Regions from separate parts of the Homo sapiens genome. Here all the other regions are linked to region 4. Evidence: promoter capture Hi-C in 16 types of primary human blood cells and fetal thymus (Javierre and others, 2016). All regions are on one chromosome and are shown on one strand. Each heading gives the region's core, a stretch centred on a gene start or on the middle of the fragment in contact. The rest is flanking DNA. Distances are from core to core; before and after follow the strand shown.

Region 1 (6,101 bases), core at 2,069-4,568, 270 kb before region 4:
GATTTACCTTGCTAAAAATTTCCTATCAGTATACCTGTCCACGTTGTATTGGGTTTTATGTCATTTACCTATCAATGTAAGAGCTTTTTGTCTATTATAGACACAAACCATTAATCTCTCTTTTGTGTTTTAGCAATTTATTTCCACTTTTTCTAACCATTATTTACATTTTTTGCATTGTCAAAAATGTCTATATTTCTTTAACTCTTACGATTCCAATCTTTGTTTTAAAGTTTTTTACAGACCTTAGATTGAGGTGTCAGGTTTTATTTGATATTCTATGTTTATATATGTATCTTGACTAATATGTTAAAACTTTTTATTTAGTTTGTTGCTCTTTAGTTTCCACAGATGAGTTCAAATTCCTTTATTTTTAATGTTTTCCTTAATAACGAAGGCATTTAAAGCTTGCAAGTTCCACTGAAAAGTTCTCTGTGTTCCAAATAATTTAGTGTGTTCTTCTTTTCACTCTTTCCTAAATAGTTTTTAATTTTTTAAATTTTATCTTTGATATAAGGGTGATCTAGGAGCATCTTAATTTTCAAGTGGTTAAGATTTTGTTGATCACCTTCTCTCTTTTTCATATTTATCAACACGGCCTTTTAAAAAAGTGAATATACTTTATGGCCAAGTATATGACGTTTTTGAGCAAATGTTTCATTGATGTATGGAAAAACCCCTCATATCTTTGATTCTAAGAAACATTTTTCTCACGTGTTAACATCTCTAGAATTGGGATGCATCTCTTTACAGCTGTCAGCCCATAGGAGTGGCATTGTAGTTGTGTAAAACCTTCACTTGACATGTTCTGGTAAGATCAAGAAATCAAGAAAGCACCAGTATCAAAATGTCTTAGTGTAGAGGAAAGCCAACATATTGTCTCTAGATAATATAAGGTTGTTTTTCCCTGTCCTGGGTTTCTTTCTCTCTACAAAATCTGTTTGATTTTGGTAGAGATGTATTGAAATCTTCAGTCATAATTATATTTTATTAGGCTTATCAAATTCCTAATGACTTTGCTTTATGTATTTAGCTAGTTGCATGTAGTTTGATATATACATATTTATGAATGTTACCTTTTTCATAAATCTTTGCCTTTTATAATTGGTCTGACCTTACATTTTATCTTTGCTTATCTTTTATTTTCCACCCTTCTTTACTATTTCACCATGTCCCTCATACACAGCTTTTGTTTTCTAATCTTTAAGCTTTAGTGAAAGAAAACAATCCATTTACATTTTATTTAATGTCTGTATCTTAGTTTCTTCATTATCTATTTTAAATCATTATTTCCTTTTTTTCTTATTTTTGTTGTTTTTTTTTTCAGGTTCATCTCATTCTTTCAAAGATTAGTTGTGTGTTTCCATTTCATTCATTGTTAACAACATGTCTGCTCTCAAGAACAAGTATATATGAATCTATCCCTTTTCCCACACAGCTGTATTACCTCAACTTTCTTCCCTATACAAACTAGATGAGACCTCTAGAACACTTCTTCCTTTTGTTCTTTTTTTCTCTGCCTTTTTCAGGTGATGAGACTTTTTCAAATGCTTTTACTTTGCCCTTCTACAGATTTCCTTAAAGTATGCTTTACTTCCTCAAATTATGTTGTTCAGAAATAAATAAAACAAAATGAATTGAGGTCTGTAATGAGTTTGATGACACAATACTAACCCTTGACTGTTTCTCTTTTTTATTTTGAGAAAAAAATTTAGAATACATAAAAGTATATATAAATATAACAACTGCCCATGTACCCATCATTCAAATTATATAAATTAACATTTTTAGTCAAATGCTTCATATCTTTTACTTTGTAATACAAGAAATAAAACATTACACATAAAGCTGAAGTACTCACTGTCGCCTATTAATACATTTCTGTTTTCTTCTACTCCCCCATTTGTGTTCCTTCCTATGATGAGGTGCACACATTGTGGTTAGGAATTCCATTTTTAAATAATGGTGGTCTAAGTTATTGGGACTAATAGCTCTCTAAAAAGCAATCAAGGTAACTAGATTTAAAAAAATTACAATCTTAAAACTACAGGTTAGCCAACAAAAAATGGACTCAATGGAGTGGGGAAGTATATTCCATCTACTATAGTGGAAGGCACTGAAAAGTCACCTGGCAAAAGATGTCCAGTTATAATTCTGTAAAAGGGAAGGAGTAAAGAATTAGAAACATTAATACAATCTACCAAAGAATGAAACAAACTAAAAAGTCTACTTAAAAAACTTGCAAATCACAACTGTAAAATGTGAAGAAATGCAATGCCATGAGAGAGAGCCAACAAAATCAACTTTGGAAAGGAACTGACTCTAAGTGGAATTTCTCTTAATAGAAAAATGTGATAAACATATCAAAACAAATCTGAGAAATAAAGGATCAATATCCATTAGTAACTAAATAGGACCTGTAAAACAAAAATAGGCAGGTCTGAAGTACAAACTGTCAGATATAAAGCAATTTGAAATCTTAGAAATGAATAATGTGGCAATTTCAAATTACAATCTAAATTAATAAACACTACTTCTGCAGTGCTACTTTCAGTAAGTGTGGTCTGCTTCCCCAGATTGCTATATTCTTCTCTGTAAGTCTCATTATACTCAATACTGTGTGCCTCTAGTGTGGTAGCTCTGCCCCAGGGAGGATCTTCCTGGTTCATTTTCCTCCATGGCCCTTTCAAAAGTGAATGTTGAGAGAGAATCAGTGGACTGGAAGGCACTGATGAACTTAGTGGATTAACTTAATTGATTAGCTAAGGGGAAGGAAACTGAAATAAAAATAGTTAAGAGTTGTGGAATATTGGATTAGCCAAATTTCAGTGAAGAAAACAAAAATCCCTCTTAGTTTCTTTGAAAGAAAGCTGGAAATGTTAGAGAACTGCCTCTGAACAACTGACTTCAGGATCACACCATCGAAATCATGGAGTTCAGGAATCTGCTGCTGCTACAATCGCTCTCCTACTGAGAGGTGACAACGTGCTAGCAGCCCTCGTTCACTCTCGGCGCCTCCTCGGCCTCCGTGTCCGCTCTGGCCATGCTTGAGGAGCCCTTCAGCCCGCCGCTGCACTGTGGGAGCCCCTCTCTGGGCTGGCCGGGCCGGAGCCGGCTCCCTCTGCTTGCCGGGAGGTGTGGAGGGAGAGGCGCAGGCAGGAACCGGGGCTGCATGCCGCGCTCGCAGACCAGCGCCAGTTCTGGGTGGGTAAGGCACAGCGGGCCCCACACTCAGAGCAGCCGGCTGGTGCTGCCAGCCCCGGGCAGTGAGGGGCTTAGCACCCGGGCCAGCAGCTGTGGAGGGTGCGCCAGGTCCCTCAGCACTGCCGGCCCGCCCGTGCCGCGCTCAAATTCTCCCAGGCCTCAGCCACCTCCCTGCGGGGCAGGGCTCGGGACCTGCAGCCCACCATGCCTGAGCCCCCCTACCGGTGGGCTCCTGCGTGGCCTGAGCCTCCCAGATGGGTGCTGCCCCCTGCTCTGCCACGCCTGGTCCCATCGACTGCCCAAGGGCTGAGGAGTGCCCACGCCGCAGCGTGCGACTGGCGGGCAGCTCTGCCCAGGGCAGGATCCACTAGGAGAAGCCAGCTGGTCTCCTGAGTCAGGTGGGGATTTGGAGAATTTTAATGTCTAGCTAAAGGTTTGTAAATGCACCAATCAGCGTTCTGTGTCTAGCTCAAGGTGTGTAAAGACACCAATCAGTGCTCTGTGTCTACCTATTCTAGTGGGGACTTGGAGAACTTTTGTGTCTAGCTAAAGGATTGTAAATGCACCAATCAGTACTCTGTCTAGCTCCAGGTTTCTAAACGCACCAATCAGCACCCTGTCAAAACAGAACAATCAGCTCTCCGTAAAATGGGCCAATCAGCTCTCTGTAAAATGGAACAATCATCTCTCTGTACAATGGACCAATCGCCAGGATGTGGGTGGGGCCAGATAAGGGAATAAAAGCAGGCTGCCCCCGCCAGCAGCGGCAACCCAGTTGGGTCCTTTTCCACTGTGTGGTAGCTTTGTTCTTTTGCTCTTCACAATAAATCTTGCTGCTGCTCACCCTTTGGGTCCGCACCACCCTTATGAGCTGTAACACTCACCACGAAGGTCTGCAGCTTCATTCCTGAGGCCAGCGAGACCACGAACCCACTGAAGGGAACAAACAACTCCAGACGCGCCGCCTTTAAGAGCTGTAACACTCACTGTGAAGGTCTGCAGCTTCAATCCTGAAGTCAGCGAGACCACAAACCCACCAGTAAGAAGAAACTCCAGACACATCATCTTTAAGAACTGTAACACTCACCGTGAGGGTCTGCGGCTTCATTCTTGAAGTCAGCGAGACCAAGAACCCAGCAATTCCAGACACACTACCGCAGATTTTTATTCCCATAAAGTTGATGACTAGATAAATGAAAGTAGAAAAAGACCACCACAATCACCTGTGGCTGATCTTATCTTGCTGGAAATAGAAGCAGCAGTAGGAAGTTGACCTACACCTTAATTCTGACCTCCAAATAAATATCACATAACTGCTTGTTACGTTGTAGATCAAATTTTCTCCTAGACTCCTAGCTTCAATGGAGTCTGTGTAATATAGTGTTTAGTCTTCTGAAATCTTTTAAAAAAATTATAAGGGAGGTTTAAGAGAGGCAATTCATTTTAATATAAATTTGGAATCACTTTTTAAAAATATCTATTGGAGTTATAAATTGATGTGTGGAGAATTGCTATCTTAACAATATTGAGTGTTCCAACCCACGAAAATGATGTTAATAACATTTACTTAAGTCTGTAATTTCTCTCAGCAAAATTTATAGTTTTTTTTTTTTAAATAGAATTCTTCCGTTTTTAAAAAATGTTACTTTAAGTTCTGGGATACATGTGCAGAACATGCAGGTTTGTTACATAGGCATATATGTGCCATGGTGGTTTGCTGCAGCCATCAACCTGTCATCTAGGTTTTAAGCCCCGCATGTATTAGGTATTTGTCCTAATGCTCTCCTTCTCCTTGCCCCCCACTCCCTGACAGGCCCTGGTGTGTGATGTTCCCCTCCCTGTGTCCATCTGTTCTCATTGTTGAACTCCCACTTATGAGTGAAAACATGTGGTGTTTGGTTTTCCGTTCCTGTGTTAGTTTGCTGAGAATGTTGGCTTCCAGCTTCATTCATGTCCCTGCAAAGGACATGATCTCATTCTTTTTTTATGAAAAATGGGATCTAATTAAACTAAAGCGCTTCTGCACAGGAAAAGAAACTATCTTCCATGTTTTGTAAAATTTATCTCTAACATGTTTTTGGATGCTGTTGGAAATGAAGTTGTTTTCGAAATTCATTTTCTAATTGTTCATTGCTAATACATAAAATTATAATTTTTATACATTAACATTGTATTCTGACCTCAATAAATTCACTTATTAGTTCTAGTAGACTCTTTAAGCTTTCTATGTATTAATACTTGGTCATGTCATCTACCAATAAAAACGACTTTCTTCTCCCTTTCCAATTTATTGACTGTCATTTCTTTTTCTTGCCTTACTGCACTGGCTAAAACTTCCAGTATAATGTTGAACAGAAATGGCAGAATAGATATCCCTGCCTTGTTCCTTATCTTAGGTAGAAAGCATTGAGGCTTTCAATATTGAGTACAGTGAAAGATGTAGGTTTTTGAAGATGCCCTTAATTAGATTAAGAGAAATGTTTCTTTTATTCTTAGTTTGCTGATAGATTTTTTGAAATCACAAATTAGTGTTGAACTTTACAAAAAGCTTTTCCTGCATTTATTGAAATGATTATATTTTCTTCTTTATTCTAATATGGTGAATTACATTGATTAATTTTTGGATGTCAAACCAACCTTTCACTCCCCAGATAAACCTCATTCCATCATGATGTATAGTAAGTATTCTTTTACATATACTAATTTGTTTTGTTAAAATTTTGTTAAGTATATTTGTGTCTATATTCATGAGGGATATTTGTCTGTAGTTTTTTAATATATTTGGCCTCATGAAATGAGTTTGGAAGTATTTTCTATTTTCTCAAAGAGTTTGTGTACAATTGGTTTTATTTCTTCCTTAAATGCTAGAGTTTACAAGTGAAGCCATTTAGGCATGA
Region 2 (5,348 bases), core at 2,007-4,506, 300 kb before region 4:
GGCCAGTTTAATTTCTTTAAAATGAAACTTAAGACAAAATTTTACCTTTTTGCCTCAAGATAATTGTTAGATATTCAAGTGTGTAAATGATCTCTTGACTAGCAGCTATTTTTTATTTTCTCTGTTAATCTGATTAGAAATATAGCATTAGAAAAACTCAGTAAGAAGTTGTATCTCCTCGAAGAAGCAATGCTTTCATTAGCTAGTGTGGAAAATGATAAAGTGGTTCCAATCCTTTTCCATTTTATTTGTTATAATTAATTCAGATATACAAAGATGTATTGACACTGATATAATAAACATATAACAACCAGCAAAATAAACAAAACCTTATAAATGGGAGTAGGAATGGAGGAGAAATGAATGGTGGTACTCTCAGGTGGCTGTTATGGGACCACCCAGGGACAGTATCAGAATCTGAAGCCACAGTAGAGTGGGATGCAGGGGCAGGAAGACCCTTCTGTGAGAAGGAGGTGGGGGCTGGTGAGTGCCCTAAAACCTGTTCCTGCTTGCTTATGGCTCCAGAAGGAGTGGGTATCTCCCAGAGGGCTCATGTAGTGTGGGACTGAAAGAGTCTCTGGTTGGCCTCATAGTTGGAAACTTCAGGAGCAGTTGGAAGCCCTTCATAACTCCTTGCTTTAAGAAAATCCCTAGATACCCCTAGCTGGAAATTTATGCAATTGGATTGTCCCAGATTTCCCTGAAGAAGATGGGACTTCTTGGGGTCTTCTGCAAAGGAATAAATCATTTGGAAACCATGGCACTCTGGATATTGTTTTTGAGAGTTTTTGTAAAAGTGTGGAGGGACAAAAATGTGGGTGTAGGAGAGCATGACATTAACTTAGGGAACACAGCAGGGAAACAACTGATCCGGGTGCCTGATTCCTCTATTGGGCTCTTAGGACAACCTCTCTCCAAAAGGATCCAGGATCACTGGAGGGACAAGTAGCAAGGGGTGAGGGCAGGTTTTGGGAGCGAGATGGCCTTAGCACTGAGCAGGGCAGCCTTGATGGGCTTTGTTGGCTAATTGAGGACAGAGAGCAACGTTCTATCCATAGGCAACTCTTCTTTCAGACAGGGAGCCCAGAAGAGTACCTCAAAGGAAAAAACTTGAATTGTATATCAGAAAAAAACCTGAAAGAACCCAAATATCTATTTCCATGAAACTTTAAAATCTAGATTAAAGTTTACTAAGAAAAAGAAAAAGGAAGACCAGCAATGATAATTGTGATTCTCAAGAGGCAGAAAAAAACACCTCTGAAGTTGAGTGTTTATCCATTTCACTCTTGAGAAAACAAAGATTAACTATGTTAAATGACACGTTAAATGTAAGGGAAATGTGGGATCCACTCTTGGAAGAGCTTTTAACAAGCTTGCATCAGTTATCTTCACAGCAGGTTCTTCTGCAATGATTGCTCAATAGAATTGATTCATTTCACTACCAGGAACTATGAAGGAAAGGTCAGCAACTCATTTCCAGTTCTTGCTTAAAGTATAGTCATGTTAGCAGACAGCTTTGAGATTCTCTACTTTAAGTTCTTAAATTCTCAAGAGAGGGAATTAAGGTCCTGAGTGGTAAATGACCCACCCAGGATCATATCTGCCAATGACAGCTGGGGCTGGAATCTGATTTCCTGACACTCAACCTAATGTCTTTTCTAAGTACAACTCAAAATTTCTTGTGATTTGGAGAATATGCTAAGCATTGGCCTATCTGTGAAATATGATTAAGATAATATTGACCTCAGGTTAGGAAATCACTTGTCCAGAGGTAATAAAACCTTTTCAGGGGCAGGAAAAGATGTGCACCAGCCCACATTTGTTTATTGCCTGTGATGGGAAGGGAAGATACTCAATGTTTCCAAAGTCAATTTTAGGCCTTGTATACATCCTAAAAGAAACATTTGCGATTAGTTTTGAGTATGCCTGGTTAGATTATTAGGACCACAAGTAATTCTAGTCCTCTTCTGTTTTCTGTAGTGGCAGAAAAGAAAGAGAGCAAGTATGAGATTAGCTCTTTGGGTTTTGCTTCTTCTTTTTTTCTTTTTCTTCTTCTTCTTCTTCTTCTTCTTCTTCTTCTTCTTCTTCTTCTTCTTCTTCTTCTTCTTCTTCTTCTTCTTATTATTATTATTATTATTCTAGAGACAGGGTCTCACTCTATTGCCCAGGCTGGAGTACAGTGGCACAACTCACTTTAACCTCAAACTCCTGGGCTCAAGCAATCCTCCTACCTAAGCCTCCCCAGTAGCTGGGACCTCATATGCGCACTACCATGCCTGGCTAATTAAAAAAAAAAAGAAGGAAAGAAAGAAAAAGAAAAAGAAAAAACTTCTTGTGGTGGGGCGGCGGCGGAGGGGGTTGGGTCTTTCTATGTTGTCCAGGCTGGTCTTGAATTCCCCTCCTCAAGGAATTCTCCCACCTTGGTTTCCCAAAGTGCTGGGATTACAGGCATGAGCCACTATGCCTGGCCTGCTTCTGATACTTGTAAAGATGTTCATGGATTGGGTGGGGAGGGGGTGGTCAGGAGGCAGAAATTAGGAGAAATTGAGGTTGCAATTCAGCTTCCCTTCTGCATAGAGCATATGGTCGAAATCTGTTTTTCTACAAAGACATATAACAAGTACTTAAAGGTTCCACTGAAATTAAAGACTGGAAGGCGACTTGTGCAGATGTCATGAAACAGGAGCAAAAAAATGTGACTCCGTTTTTATTTCCCTTTCCCATTCCTGTGGTTCTGTCGTTTTATGCAAGTCAGAATCCTTTTGATGGGAATAGAGTGAAATGGGAAAGGGAAGTGGCGGAGAAGGGGAAACAAAAACTTCAAGGGAAAGAATCTGACATTACTGTTCTTTATAGCAGACTCCAGCCCCAACATACACACTTCTTACGTACAGCGCCTTATACACACAACCAACACATACAGGCATTCAGTTAGTTTGGGTTTGTTGTTGTTGTTTGCTACTAAGACATACGTTTGTTAAGTTATGTAGCTTTTTTCTTGTTGTTCATCTAATTTATGTAAGAAAACTTAGCAATAATTCACCTAGTAATGTTTTAAGAAGATGGCCACAGAGAGTGGGAAGATAGAAAAATATATATCTAATAGATTATATAGGCTTCAGATTTCTGGAGAATTTTCATTTTGAGGGTCAGCTAAATTCAGCCTGATATATATGCTTTTATGAAGGATTCTCTGATCTCCCCATAAGTGTCTCACATTCAGGGACCTCATTATCTTTATTATGTAATTTTACAATAAATTATGGTTCTATTGGACTTAAGCATTTATACAAACATTAGCTCCCTTAATCATCATAGTTGTAAATGGGGCAAATCTTACAAAGAACATTGAACTTGGAATCAAGAAATCTAATATAAATTTCTAGCTCTGCCATTTGTCAGTTTATTGAGTTTGGATGAGTTATAAGATCTCTTTGAACTACATCTTCCTCATCATAAGATAGAGACAGTAAACACTTTCTCTATCCCCCTCAGGGGGTGGTGGGAAGGATTACATGAGACAATGTATATAAATGCAGAAAGTATTATAGGTTTGTGAAGTGTTTATTGACATTGTTACAGATGACAGAATGAAGGCTCAAAAGGTTCAGTTAGTAAATGGAGAGTCATCACAAAGGTATATAAATGTTATACCTGGGACTTCATATTTAAAAAGGTCTGAGGGCTATAAATAAGTGTGGATAAGAAGTCTTGGCTCTGAAGTTCAGGAAGAACAGATAAGAGGCCTATGTAGCTAACTAATCCATAAATAAGGGCCACTAGTTTTTTTAATATATATTTAAACTTTTGAATTTTAGTTAATGTTTGAAAAGACTTTGTGAATACCTCAAAAACTTGATGTTACTAAATTTGCAAGTAGGAATTTAAATGCAAGTTATCATCAGCAGAAAATATTATTTCATCCTGTATTAAAAGCAAGGCCAGGTGTGGTGGCTTGCACTTCGAATCCCAGCATTTTGGGAGCCCGAGGCGGGCAGATCATCTGAAGTCAGGAGTTCGAGATCAGCCTGGCCAACATGGTGAAACCCTCGTCTCTACTAAAAAAAAAAAAAAAAAAAAAATACAAAAATTAGCTGGACATGGTGGCAGGTGCCTGTAATCCCAGCTACTCAGGAGGCTGAAGCAAGAGAATTGTTTGAACCCGGGAGGTGGAGGTTGCAGTGAGCCAAGATTGCACCATTGCACTACTATAGCCTGGGTGACAAGAGCAAAACTCTGTCTCAAAAAGAAAAAAAAAAGACAAATTGTGGTGACCCTGATGATGTGTACCCAATAAAAACCACAGAATTCCTATGTATTCAGCACCTCAGCTGTTTCAGTGTGACAATGGCCTCACTTACTGTGCAAATCCTTAGAGTACTTACCTACCACTAGATGGAGACATAGCCATAACTGATCAAAGTCCACTTAGCTGTTTAAAAGAAAAAAATACCTTACCCTCCAATAACCATATATGAAAAAGTACATATTCATTAGCAATACAATGTGATAACTTTCTTTGATATTTTGATACACTTGCTTGAATTTTTAGTATTTCAGAAATGTGAACTATTGTCAGCTGTGAAGGTTCCAAGTGCCTTCTAGATGGCGTATTTATACCTCAAATCTCTGGAACTGGGTAGCAGAAGACAGTAAGTTATAAAAGCAAAATAATGTAAAAAAGTATATATATAGTTTTTAGAATAGTGTGAAGAATGTATTTTCTATTAAGGAACATGAAAAGATCTAATAAACCTAGTAACCGAAAACTTCTATAAAGTACAACTTTCTGCCTCTGAATTCAGAGATTTTTTTTTCCAGAATAATCCTAGGTAGATGTATTTGCTTTATCAATTCTGTCTGAAAGTCTGTGACCCTATTCACTCTATAGATTCAAGGTTATCTTCAAACTAGGGACAATTTCCTTTATTATTTATATGTTTATTGTCTACAATGAAAATGTTTTATATATGTGATGATGTACTTATATATGTACTATGTTAGGTCATTCTTTCATTGCTATAAAGAAATACCTGAGACTGGGTAATTTATAAGAAAAGAGGTTTAATTGGTTTATGGTTCTGCAAGCTGTACAAGAAGCATAGCGTATCTGCTTCTGGAGAGGCCTCAGGAAGCTTCCAATCATGGTGGAAGGCAAAGGGGGAAAAGACATGTCACGTGGCAAAAGCAGGAGCAAAAGGGAGAGTGGTGGTGGGGTGGTGCCATGCACTTTTAAATGGACAGATCTAATGAAAACTCACTCACTATCATGAGAACACTACCAAGTGGATGGTGCTAAACCATGCCTGAGAAATCCGGCTCCATGATTCAGTCACCTCCCTCCAGGT
Region 3 (5,557 bases), core at 892-3,391, 280 kb before region 4:
TCTTATATTAATTGCTTCCAAGATTTTTTAAATACTAAAAATTTTAAGATGTAAAATACTACATTTGATTTATTATTTCATTAAGATTCTAAGCAAACTAATAAAGGTTAAAATTTTAGTGAATAACCTACTTTGATAAAAGTGACAATGTATTTATTAAAATTATAATTAGGTTTTACTGAATGATTTAAGATGTTATTTTTCTCCATATCACTGAGCCAGGAGCATTTAATGTTAAAAATAGACTTGGCAATATTTGGCAAAATGTAAAAATGTAAAGTTAATTAGATTTCAAACTCAATTACAGTGACATCATAAATACTGATTTATTGTAATTCAGCATCTTGTATCCAGAAATTAGAGTAGGTAGACCTCTGGTAAATCTATCAGAATATTTCAGACTTTAATAGAAGACATTAAAACATTCTACTCATTTAAACAGCTATTCATTATATACTCATTACATGTAAGCAGCTACTCATTCTGTGCATATACTCATGTCTAAAACAGTGGCTCTCACACTTGGCTATATGTGAGTCACCTGTGACACATCATGAGTTTTTATTTTTCACCACTGGAAAATCTAACTCAGGTGATCTGGATCTATGACTAGTGTCAAAGTCAAATAAAACTAGAGATGAATCTCTAAATTTAAAATGTTTTATTTGGGAAGCAAGACTTATAATTTGGGGCATACACACAGACTGGGTGGTCCATGGTATGTCTGTAAAACAAAGAGGTTAGAGGTTTTATAAAAAAACAAAAACAAAAACGAGAAATGTTGCATATTATTTTGTAGGAAAGTTTATTGGCACTAGTAAAGTTTGGGGGAGCTGGCAACTTCTGATTGGTGAGTGACAGCCTTGGGTAAAACTAGTCTTAGAGTCACAGCAGGTTGTTTCAGTAATTAGAAAAACCAATTTCAGGTTACAGAAGGCAGTTTCAGCAACCAGGCTTGCATAGAATTGCATTCTTTGATCAATGTTATGTGTTCTGAATGCTTTTTCCCCCTGGCCAATTGACTGTTTTAGTTGGATATGATAAAAATGACCCAATTCATGTGACCAACTTTTATACCAGGCATCTGTATGTCTGAAGAAGTGACACTGATACACAGCCCAACTTAGGGAATCACTCCCTACCTTATAGAATCCTTTGCCTTGATCCAATAATTTTGTATATATAAAAGCATTAGGTGTAAAAGGAAATGATTAGCAGTTGATTCTATTTAGATTTATTAAATATAAAGCAAAACGGGTACATGACCTCTGTCTTTTTTATCCCAGGACATCTAAAGGAAATATGTTTTAAAGCTAGAAAAGTATGATAAAATAAATGAGAGAGGGTTAGAGATAAAACCTCCACAGAAGTTGCAAATGAGTTTTGAATGTTCTTATTGTGTTGGGTTCTTTGAAACATAATTTATAATGGAAAAATAATCTCAGTGATATTTTTAATGAGAACTATTTCTTACCTTTTAAAAATGTTTGATTTTTATAGATACATAATAGTTGTACATATTTATAGTGTACATGTCATATTTTGATACAAGAACACAATGTATAATTATCAAAGCAGGGTAATTGGTATATCCATCACCTCAAACATTTATCATTTCTTTGTGTTGGGAATATTCCAAATCCACTTCTCTAGTTATTTTTAAATATACGATATTTTCACTATTGTGCTACTGAACTCAGTATCTTATTCCTTCTATCTAACAGTATTTTTGTAGCCATGAACCAATCTCTCTTTATCATCCCTCCCCAATACCCTTCCCAGCCTCCAGTGACTACTCTCTACCTCCATTAGATCACTTTTTTAACTTCCATATATGAGCAACAACATGCAATATTTTTCTTCCTGTCCCTGGTTTATTTAACACAATGACCTCCATTACCATCCATGTTGTTGCAAGTGACAGGATGTCATTCATTTTTATGGATGAATAATATTCTATTGTGTATGTGTGCCATATTTTCTTCATCCATTCATCTGTTGATGGGCACTTATGTTGATTCTTTATCTTGGCTATTGTGAATAGTGCTGCAATAAACATAGGAGTGCAGGTATCTGTTTGATATACTGATTTTCTTTCTTTTGAATATATACCCAGCAGTGGGATTGCTGGATCATATGGTAGTTCTGTTTTTTATTTTTTTCCATGCTGAAACTCCATACTGATTTCCATAGTGGCTGTACTAACTTACATTCTCACCAACAGTGTATCAGCATTCCTTTCTCTGCATCCTCGCCAGCATTCATTGTTTTTTGTCTTTTCAATGAAAGCCATTTTAACTGGGGTAACTCATTGTGGTTTTGATTGCATTTCCATGATAATTAGTGATGTTGAGCATTTTTTCAGATATCTGTTGACCATTCATATGTCTTCCCTTGAGAAGTGACTATTCAGATCTCTTGCCCATTTTTAAATCCAGTTATTTGGTTCTTGCTATTGAGTTATTAGAGATCCTTATATATTCTGGTTATTAATCTTTTGTCATTGGAATAGTTTACAAATATTTTCTCCCATTCCGTGGGTTGTCTCTTCATTTTGTTGACTGTTTCCTTTGCTGTGTAGTTTTTTAGCTGTATATGATCCCATTTGTCCACTTCTGCTTTCATTGCCTGTGCTTTTGAGCTCTTACTCAAGAAATCTTTGCCTCAATTAATTTCCTCAACGCTTTCTTCTAGTAGTTTTACGGCTTCAGGTCTTAGATTTAAGTCTTTAATCTATTTTGATTTGATTTTTGTATATGTGGAGAGATAGGGATCTAGTTTCATTCTTTTGCATATGGATATCCAGTTTTTCTAGCATCATTTGCTGAAAAGACTGTCTTTTCCACGACGTATGTTCTTTGCACCTTTTTTTGAAAATGAATTGACTGTAAATGCAAGGATTTATTTCTGGGTTCTCTATTCTGTTCCATTGGCCTACATGTCTGATTTTATGCCAATACTATGCTGTTTTGGTTACTATAGCTCTGAAATATAATTTGAAGCCAACTAATGGGATGCCTCCAGCTTTGTTCTTTTTGCTCAGGATAGCTTTGTCTATTCTGGGCCTTTTGTGATTTCATATAAATTGTAGGATTGTATTTCCTATTTCTGTGAAGTATATCATTGATATTTTGATAGGAATGGCACTGAATCTGTAGATTGCTTTGTGTAGTATGGATATTTTAACAATATTGATTCTTCTAATGCATGAACATGGAATATGTTTTCATATGTTTATGTCTTTTTCAATTTCTTGAATCAGAGTTTTATAGTTTTCATTGTAAAGACCTTTCACTTCTTTAAGTAGATTTCTATGGGTTTTTTTGTAGCTATGGTAAATAGAATTGCTTTCTCTCTTTTTTTAGCTTGTTTGCTGTTGGCATATAGAAATGCTACTGATTTTTTGTGAATTGATTTTCTATCCTGTAACTTTACTGCATTTGTTTATTAGTTCAAATAGTTTTTTAGTGAAGGTTTTAGGCTTTTTTAACTATAAGATAATATCCAAGTAAGAATAAGTCGATTTCTTTCTTTCTATTTAACTGCCATTTCTTTTTCTTGCCTAATTGCTCTAAGACTTACATTACAATGTTGAATAAAAGTGGTAAAAGTGGAAATCTTTGTCTTGTTCCACACCTTAGTGGAAAGGCTTTCAGTGTTTCCCCATTCAGTATAATACTAGTTACAGGTTTGTCACATACAGCCTTTTTTGTGTTGAGGTATTTGCCTTCTATACCCACTTTGTTGAGAGTTTTATTTTTTTATCATGAAAGAATGTTAAATTTTATTGAATACTTTTTTGGTGTCTATTGAAATCATTTTTTCCTTCATTCTGTTGATGTGATGTATTACATTTACTGATTTGCACATATTGAACCATCCTTGCTTTTCTGGAATGAATCCCACTTGATTATGATGAATAATCTATAATGTGTTGTTGAATTCAGTTTGCGAGTATTTTATTGACAGTTTTCCCATCTATGTTCATCAGAGATATTGGCATTTGGTTTTGTTTTTTCATTGTTGTGTATCTTTGTCTGTTTTTGATATCTGGGTAATGCTGGCCTTATAAAATGAATTTGGATGTATTTTCTTCTCTGTAATTTTTTGAAATAGTTTGAGTAGGATTGATATTAGTTCTTCTTGAAGTGTTTAGTGGAATTTAGCAGGAAAGCCATAAGGTTCTGGGATTTTCTTTGATGGAACACTTTTTATTACTGTGTCTATCTTATTACTTGTTATTGGCCTATTTAGGTGGTCTATCTCTTCATGATTCAATCTCAGTAGGTATATATGTCTAGGAACTTATCCATTTCTTTCAGGTTTTCCAATTCATTTGCATACAGTTGCTCATAATACCTTCTAATGATCTTTTGAATTTTTGTGGTATTGGTTGTAATGTCTCCTTTTTCATCTCTTCTTTTATTTATCTTACCTTTTAAAGTAGAATATTTCTAAATGCTAGGAAGAAATTAAAAAAAATTTCTCAATAGCTCTATGAGCACCTCTTTGAATCCTTATAAATACTTTTGACTTTGTCCTTGAGATTAATACTACCAGCAGAAGAAGAGGCTAAGTCTGATAAATTAATGTAAAGGAAGATATGATAATCTGAAAAATAAAAAAGAAATATTTATCAGGAAACCAACAACAGAATTCAGCATCTCACATAAAAATAAAGTAACAGTTAAACATCTACTCATAACTCATGAAACTAGCTTATAAAATAGTGAGTTAATTCTTACCACCATAAGAATTTCACTGATCCTTTAATAATTTCAGCTGTAAAACTAACAATACGCAGTCAACAACAAAATAGGATAAATATCACAAATATCTATATGAAGCAAAATATATAATTATAACAGTAAGAAGTGATATGTAATTGAATAGAAAATATTGAATAGAAAATAGTGTGTGTGGGGTGTGCGAGTTTGCTTTTGATACAGCATAAATTAAGAAACACAGAGAGAAGAGATGTGACAGGTAAGATGTGGGGAAGAGAGGCAGGTCATAAAGGGCCTCTAAGATAGAAACCTGTACAATACAACTAGCATCTTGTGAGAAGGCGCTTAGGAGGGAAATAACTGAGAATAGACTGATGTGGCTAAAGCTTATGGAGCAAGAGTGAGGCAGCTTAAGATAAATCTTGAGTGAGAGATGGGGCCAGAACATGCAAGATTTGACAGGTTGTGTACAGACAAAGAAATATCTTTATGCTATCACCATTCACTTAATAATCCATTGAATATTCTGACCTTAAAGTTTCTTGACTCTTTACCTCTTGTGATCTGAAACATCCTACATCTACTACCTCTTAAACTTCCAGTTCATTTATTAAAACACTTTCCACCTCAGAATTTTTTTAATCTAAATAAGACCTTTAGATTGATTCCAGCACTTTACTCACCATCCATTAGTCCCTTCTACACACTCTTCTTTCTCAGTTTTGATGGTGTAGTACATCATAATCACTCTTGCAAATTTGCTTGTATTCGTTGTCTCAATTTCTCTCTAGCATACATATGCTCCAACCCTGGATGAATTCAATCATCTA
Region 4 (6,012 bases), core at 1,780-4,279:
TTTTTTTAAAAAACACCTGCAAGCATTTGCAGTTAATGTCTCCCATGCATTAATGCTCTTACCTCCAACTTCTCCTTTACTCACTATTCCTTTACTCACTATTCAGATCAAATGTCACCTCCTTGGTGAAGCATTGCCTGACTTCATCATGAAATGCCAGTGTTTTCTGTTCTTCTAGTACTTGGCTAATACCTTAATTGTAGCATTGTTTTGTATCCTAACTATCTATTTGCTTTTGCCTCCCGAAATACATTGTGAATTCCTTGAAGACAAGGAAGGTGTTTATTCAACTTTCCATCTCTAACGTGGTATTGTAATTGGTCTATATAACCCCGTGACTCCTTTGTTAAAAAAAAACATTTGCAAGGTCAGTTTTATCACGCAGATTATCATCTGCTTTTTTGCAGATGCAGAGGAAGAGAAAAGAGTTCCTCCTTATTTCGCAGAGATTTCTTTCACTGCCTTTAGAAAGACCTAATTTGAGCACCAGAATTTAACTAGCTTAAAACTTACACAGAGGAGGCCGGGTGCAGTGGCTCACGCCTGTAATCCCAGCACTTTGGGAGGCCAAGGCAGGCAGATCACGAGGTCAGGAAGTCGAGACCATCCTGGCTAACACGGTGAAACCCTGTCTCTACTAAAAAGACAAAAAATTAGCTGGGCGTGGTGGCGGGCGCCTGTAGTCCCAGCTACTCGGGAGGCTGAGGCAGGAGAATGGCCTGTGAACCCGGGAGACGGAGCTTGCAGTGAGCAGAGATTGCACCACCGCACTCCAGTCTGGGCAACAAAGCGAGACTCCGTTTCAAAAAAAAAAAAAAAACTTACACGGAGGAAGGAATAAGACAGAATAAACAATAATAAATCTAAAAGGAATGAAAGTCAATTTAATTTTATCTTTAGAATGAGAATGACTGTCTCACTGAGGACCAAATGAAATAATGTGTGTGAAATGCTTTGTCAGTTTTGAAGAGAGATAATACAGTGACTAGACTTCCCTAACAAACCATCAGGATGCATCCTAACTCTTCTCCAACTACGGCATTTGCAGTTCACCATAACTACTCCTGGTGGTCCCTCAGCAGAAACCAGCTGGCCACAGAGTATGGGAATGGAGGCTAGAACTTGCGAGCTGAGAAGACACAAGTTGGAGTTCCAGCAATACCACAGTCTAAGTCTGTGATCTTGAAGAAGCTATATCAGCTTCTTGGATATCAGTTCCCTCCATCTCTAAAATAATGACATTAAACCTAGATGAACAAATTCTGCAATTCTGTAACTGCTCACTGAAAAGCTGAGACTACTCTAGCCAACTTTCATATTTCAAGGACTTCACCTTTTAAATTCCTGCAGAAATGGAACCAACTCAAGAACTTTAGTCAGCATGGCGGGTCCCTTGTGAAAAATAATATCAGCACTTAGCAATGCAGTGCAATTTGAGAGTCACTGGAAAAATCTTTAGTCCTCAAATTTCTCCTTCCATGAGAAGTTACTTTTTAAGTTAATATTTATTTTGTCTAACTTCCCCCTTTTAAAATGCAGATACCTTGTGAAAGGATAGTATTTTTCTCCAGTCTCGGGCTGAGTGTCTTCTTCCTTATACCTGGGCTCTCAATTATATCACTTACAAACTCCAGAAAGAACTGGCTCCCACACTTTCCCCACCCTTCCTAGAATCTCTTTTTTTTTTCTTTTTTTTTTTTTTTTGAGGTGGAGTTTCACTCTTGTTGCCCAGACTAGAGTGCAATGGCACGATCTCAGCTCACCCCAACCTCTGCCTCCCTGGTTCAAATGATCCTCCTGCCTCAGCCTCCCAAGTAGCTGGGATTACAGACATGTGCCACCATGCCTGGCTAATTTTGTAATTTTAGTAGAGACAGGGGTTCTCCATGTTGGTCAGGCTGGTCTCGAACTCCCGACCTCAGGTGATCCGCCAGCCTCGGCCTCCCAAAGTGCTGGGATTACAGGAGTGAGCCACCGTACCTGGCCAAATCTCTTTATTTTTCTATCAGCCCCTTTATTCTGTGCTCATACTACATTCAAACATATCTCTAAGCTTAATGCCAACCTTCTTTGATGCTTCTGCCTCTTCTGTAGTCTACTTTTTATTCTTTTGGTGTTACCATATTTAGAGATAGAATAGGAATCAGCAAAGAGACAAGTGGTTGAAGAATTAAAATGAGGACCAGAATGGTACTGTATCCTGGCCAACCAAGGAAGAAGAGAATTTCAAGAAGGAAGGGTTATCAGCATCGTCAAATTCAGAAAGTAAAGAAGATGAGGACGACTAAGACTGCTAGCTTCAGAAACCAACTGGAGGCTGGCCAGTGTCCTCCTTATTACCAAATCTAAACATCTTTGCTGTCAGTGGTGGAGGAGATTTGGAGTGGTTAATCAAATCTCAAAATAGAAATGGCCCCAGTTTTCAGAATGTAGACTAAGAAAAGCAAGCTTCCTGTGAACCCTTTGAAAAGTCTGATTGACCCCTTGCCTCAACTCTGATGTGGGAAGGTGGTGAAAGATCAACAAACCAACACATCTGTCTTTTAGATACAGTAACAAGAGCAACACCTTACACCTCTTCTTCTTTAGCTTATTTTATTAGAATGCAATATTATTCCTCCATTTATAATTTTTAAAACTTGAGGTTCAGATAGGGTTTAAAGTACGTCTCAAGTCTTACATCCCCCTAATACAGTGCTCCTGAAAAGATTTCTGCTGAAAACACCTCCAAGCTTTTGTCTCTGTTTTATCCTTCTAATCCTGCACTCCTTAAAGGGCCAAACCACCAGCCTTTCCTCCAAGCTTCCCCAAGGGTTTAGTAGTCCACCGACCTTTGGTAGTTGAGGAAGAGCAGAAGACTCTATGATGATATCTGGGATAGTTTCTCAAAGAAGAAAACTGCCTTGATCTATGTAGTCCTGGTTCCTCCCCAGATCAGAGTTTATCATAATACCCTGAAGTTGACTGGTAATTGCTCCACCAAAGAGTCCCTGAATTTCAGCCATGTGGTTGGCTGGTCAAGGACGGTTGATGGAAATAGATGGGCAGAAACTTTTGACGGGCCCAATGAATGATTAACAGCAGAAATAAAGCAGCACTGTTTACCTAAGCTCCTTCCTCTTTGCTAGTCCTCATTCTTCGTAACATGTCGCAATCGTTTATTTTCTCCTCTGCCAACCATTTCCCCTAAGTGGAAAGGTAATTTGAATTTGAAGCCAGAATTCTTTTTTCTTTTCATAAACACATAAGGGTTATGGCAAGACACAGTCCAGCTAGCCTGGAAACCTTGGATACTGCGAGGTTCAGAGAGCCTCCGCAAAAATGATCCACTTTCCATGACACTAGGTCCAGTATGCTTTCCTGGAGTTTGAAAACTGATATTCTTGCCCAGAGCTCGTCTCTATCCCACCCCAAGGAATTACAAAAGGTGGGGAATTTATCAAACATGCATTGGGTTTCCACTATGTGCTGAGTTATCTAGAACGTATTTGGAGTTCAGCAAATGTTAACTGCTACTACATGTCAGGCACCAGAGGGCCTCCAAAAATTGATCTATCCAGTGCGCTCAGAAGAACGCAATGAAGGACCGGCCATGTTTCCTCTCGCATAGATCTAAAAAGACCACAAGCACTTACATAGTCCAATTAAGCTACTAATCCTCAAGGTTAAGATTTGTGTGCTCAGAAGATTGCTATTAAAAGGCAATTCTTTCTGAGAACTTCACTTTTTCTGTAATAAATACTGAAAGTCCCAGAAGAGTTTCAGAAAAGGAACTAAACTACAACAGGTTGAGTTAATCAAGGAAGTTTCTACAGAAGATGTGAGATTTGGATAAAAGGTAGAAATTATTAGATAAAAGTGGTAAGGATATTAGATGTAAAGAAACCATGCGCTAGGTCACCAAGGTGAGACACTGATTTGACCAGAATGAAGATAGAGGAGGATTCCAGATTGCACAGTCTTGAGACTAAATTGGAAGAAATATCACCTTTAAAGCTGCTATTTCTTTAAAGTACCGTTTTCCAATGTATTGAAGTCCTTTCGTTTACTTTCCACAGTGACTCTTGCAGATTTTTCTCTCCAGGTCACCAAATTGTCACATTCCCTCTCAGCAGATGCTCTTACCTCCTACTTTACTAAAAATCATTCTACCTTAGCTTCATCAATGTCAAATTTTCCCTCCTATTCACTCCTCATTCCGAGGAGAATTGTTTCTTCTTTTCCTGCCTCATTTTCAATGCATCTCTCATCCTGAAATGTCCCTTCAATTTTGCCAATACCTCAAATTCCACCTTTCTTCTTTAGTGTGATGCTGAACTTCTCAAAGGTGTGACTTGTTCTACCTGCCTGTTCTTTCTCATTCATCACTCCACCTGTTGCTTTCCCATCTGGCTTCTACCACTCTTCTACTGACATGTCTCTCTGAGGCACGCCCTTAGGTCCAAGTCCAAAATATCTTTAATTCATTTCTTAGGATCTGTCTGCAGCCTTTGTCACTGCTGATCATTTCCTTTCTGAAACTCTCTTCTCCTTTGGCTTCCATGACACTAAACTTACCTGATTCCCTTAACTTAACTAATTTCTCTTTCTTAGTTACTGTTACCTTCTCTTCCTCCTTCTCATTCCTAAATATAGATATATCTCAGGCTCTTCTTTTTTTAAAAAAATTATCTTCGCAATTTTAATGATCTTGCCTTCTGTCACAGCTTTAACTATTACCAGTAAGAAGACTAGCCAGCACTACATTATTATTTCTGATTACTCTCCGAAACTCAAGACTTACTTTCTTAGGTTTTGTTTTTTTTTTCCCCCCACTGGACATCTTGCAAGCACTTCACCCTCAGCACATCCAAAGAGGAATTTCTCATTTCCGGCCAACAAGCTTCACTTTCTGACCCCAGCTTTTTCTGACCTCTGGTTCTCGGGAATAAAATTTCAGATTCACTTTTGAACTCTTCCTCTCCCTCACCCTTCAATGTTTGATTAGTTGACAGGTTGTTTTGATACAAGTTTTCAATATCTCTCGTGTCTGCTGCTGCTTTTTCATTTCTGCTGCCACCAAACCAGTTCAGGTTGATAATGCCTCCCATATGGACTATTGTAGGAGTCCTTTCGTTGGTTTCTCTTAGTTCTTTTCCCTCATCAACCAATACTACAACCAACATTGTGAGAGAAATCTTTCTTTATGTTCTGTCCTTATTACTTCATTGTTTGCAAGGCTTCCATGTCTTCATGGTCTGACTGCCAAAAAACAAATGTATATTCTCTGCCTACCAAAAACAAGTGTATATTCTCTAGCACGTCATTCAAAAGCCTCCATAAACTGGCTTTGACTTATCTTTCCAGCCACCTTCTCTCTCACCAATTTCCATGCTTCATCTAGGCCAGTCCAGGCTATGTGCAAGTTCCTAAACATATCCCATTTTTTCTGCCTCTGTGCAATGCCTTCTAAAATTATTATTAGAAATTCATTTTACAACATTAAAAAGTTTTAAGAGAATAAACACTTATAATTTCATATTCTAAGACAAATGTTTTTATCTGTGCCTATTATTGTCTAATCCTTTCCCACAAGAATAAAGGTTTTACATAAATGCAATCATAAGCCCTTGTTATTAAATATTCTATTTTTACTTAAGATTGTATTTTTAAGATTTTCTACTTCCTCATATTTATCACCATATAGGTCTGCATTACATTTAAAGTACCATAATTTATTCAAAATTTTCCTAAGAGTAGACATTTCAAATGCTCATAAGATCCTCCTAGATAGATAATATGTACAAATAAGAAGTAGCTTCAATTTCAAATCATTTTCCTCCAGTTAGATTAATCCTAGGAATGAATTTACTTGGTTAAAAATCTTATTATTGGCCAGGCGTGGTAGCTCATGCTTGTAATCCCAGCACTTTGGGAGGCCGAGGCGGGCAGATCACCTGAGGTCAGGAGTTCGAGACAGCCTGACCAACATAGGGAAACCCCGTCTCTACTAAAAATACAAAATTAGCCGGG

What was found. Contacts are between HindIII fragments. The CHiCAGO score rates a contact against its expected background, and 5 or more counts as called.
Region 1: a fragment that was not itself captured here is called in contact with the fragment with the promoter of C4BPA in region 4 in 11 of 17 cell types (monocytes, neutrophils, M2 macrophages and 8 more); the score reaches 10.9 in monocytes.
Region 2: a fragment that was not itself captured here is called in contact with the fragment with the promoter of C4BPA in region 4 in 17 of 17 cell types (naive CD8 T cells, total CD4 T cells, M2 macrophages and 14 more); the score reaches 16.0 in naive CD8 T cells.
Region 3: a contact is called between a fragment that was not itself captured here and the fragment with the promoter of C4BPA in region 4, in 14 of 17 cell types (naive CD4 T cells, total CD4 T cells, M2 macrophages and 11 more). The highest score is 10.5, in naive CD4 T cells.

What each region holds. Positions count from the first base shown.
Region 1 is chr1:207,368,822-207,374,922 of GRCh38, reverse strand. No RefSeq gene overlaps it. Among named protein-coding and RNA genes, the nearest start is that of CD55, 50 kb to the right of the region's middle. The HindIII fragment of the contact is 4,216 bases long and covers 1,211-5,426 here.
Region 2 is chr1:207,404,156-207,409,503 of GRCh38, reverse strand. All of the region lies in intron 1 of LOC124904498 (a long non-coding RNA gene), which reads left to right. Among named protein-coding and RNA genes, the nearest start is that of CR2, 47 kb to the left of the region's middle. The HindIII fragment of the contact is 3,763 bases long and covers 1,375-5,137 here.
Region 3 is chr1:207,385,260-207,390,816 of GRCh38, reverse strand. No RefSeq gene overlaps it. Among named protein-coding and RNA genes, the nearest start is that of CR2, 66 kb to the left of the region's middle. The HindIII fragment of the contact is 5,948 bases long and covers 1-5,115 here.
Region 4 is chr1:207,101,250-207,107,261 of GRCh38, reverse strand. It overlaps C4BPA (complement component 4 binding protein alpha), which reads right to left and starts at 3,029. Exons shown (of 12, transcript NM_000715.4): 1 at 2,832-3,029. The HindIII fragment of the contact is 2,080 bases long and covers 2,805-4,884 here.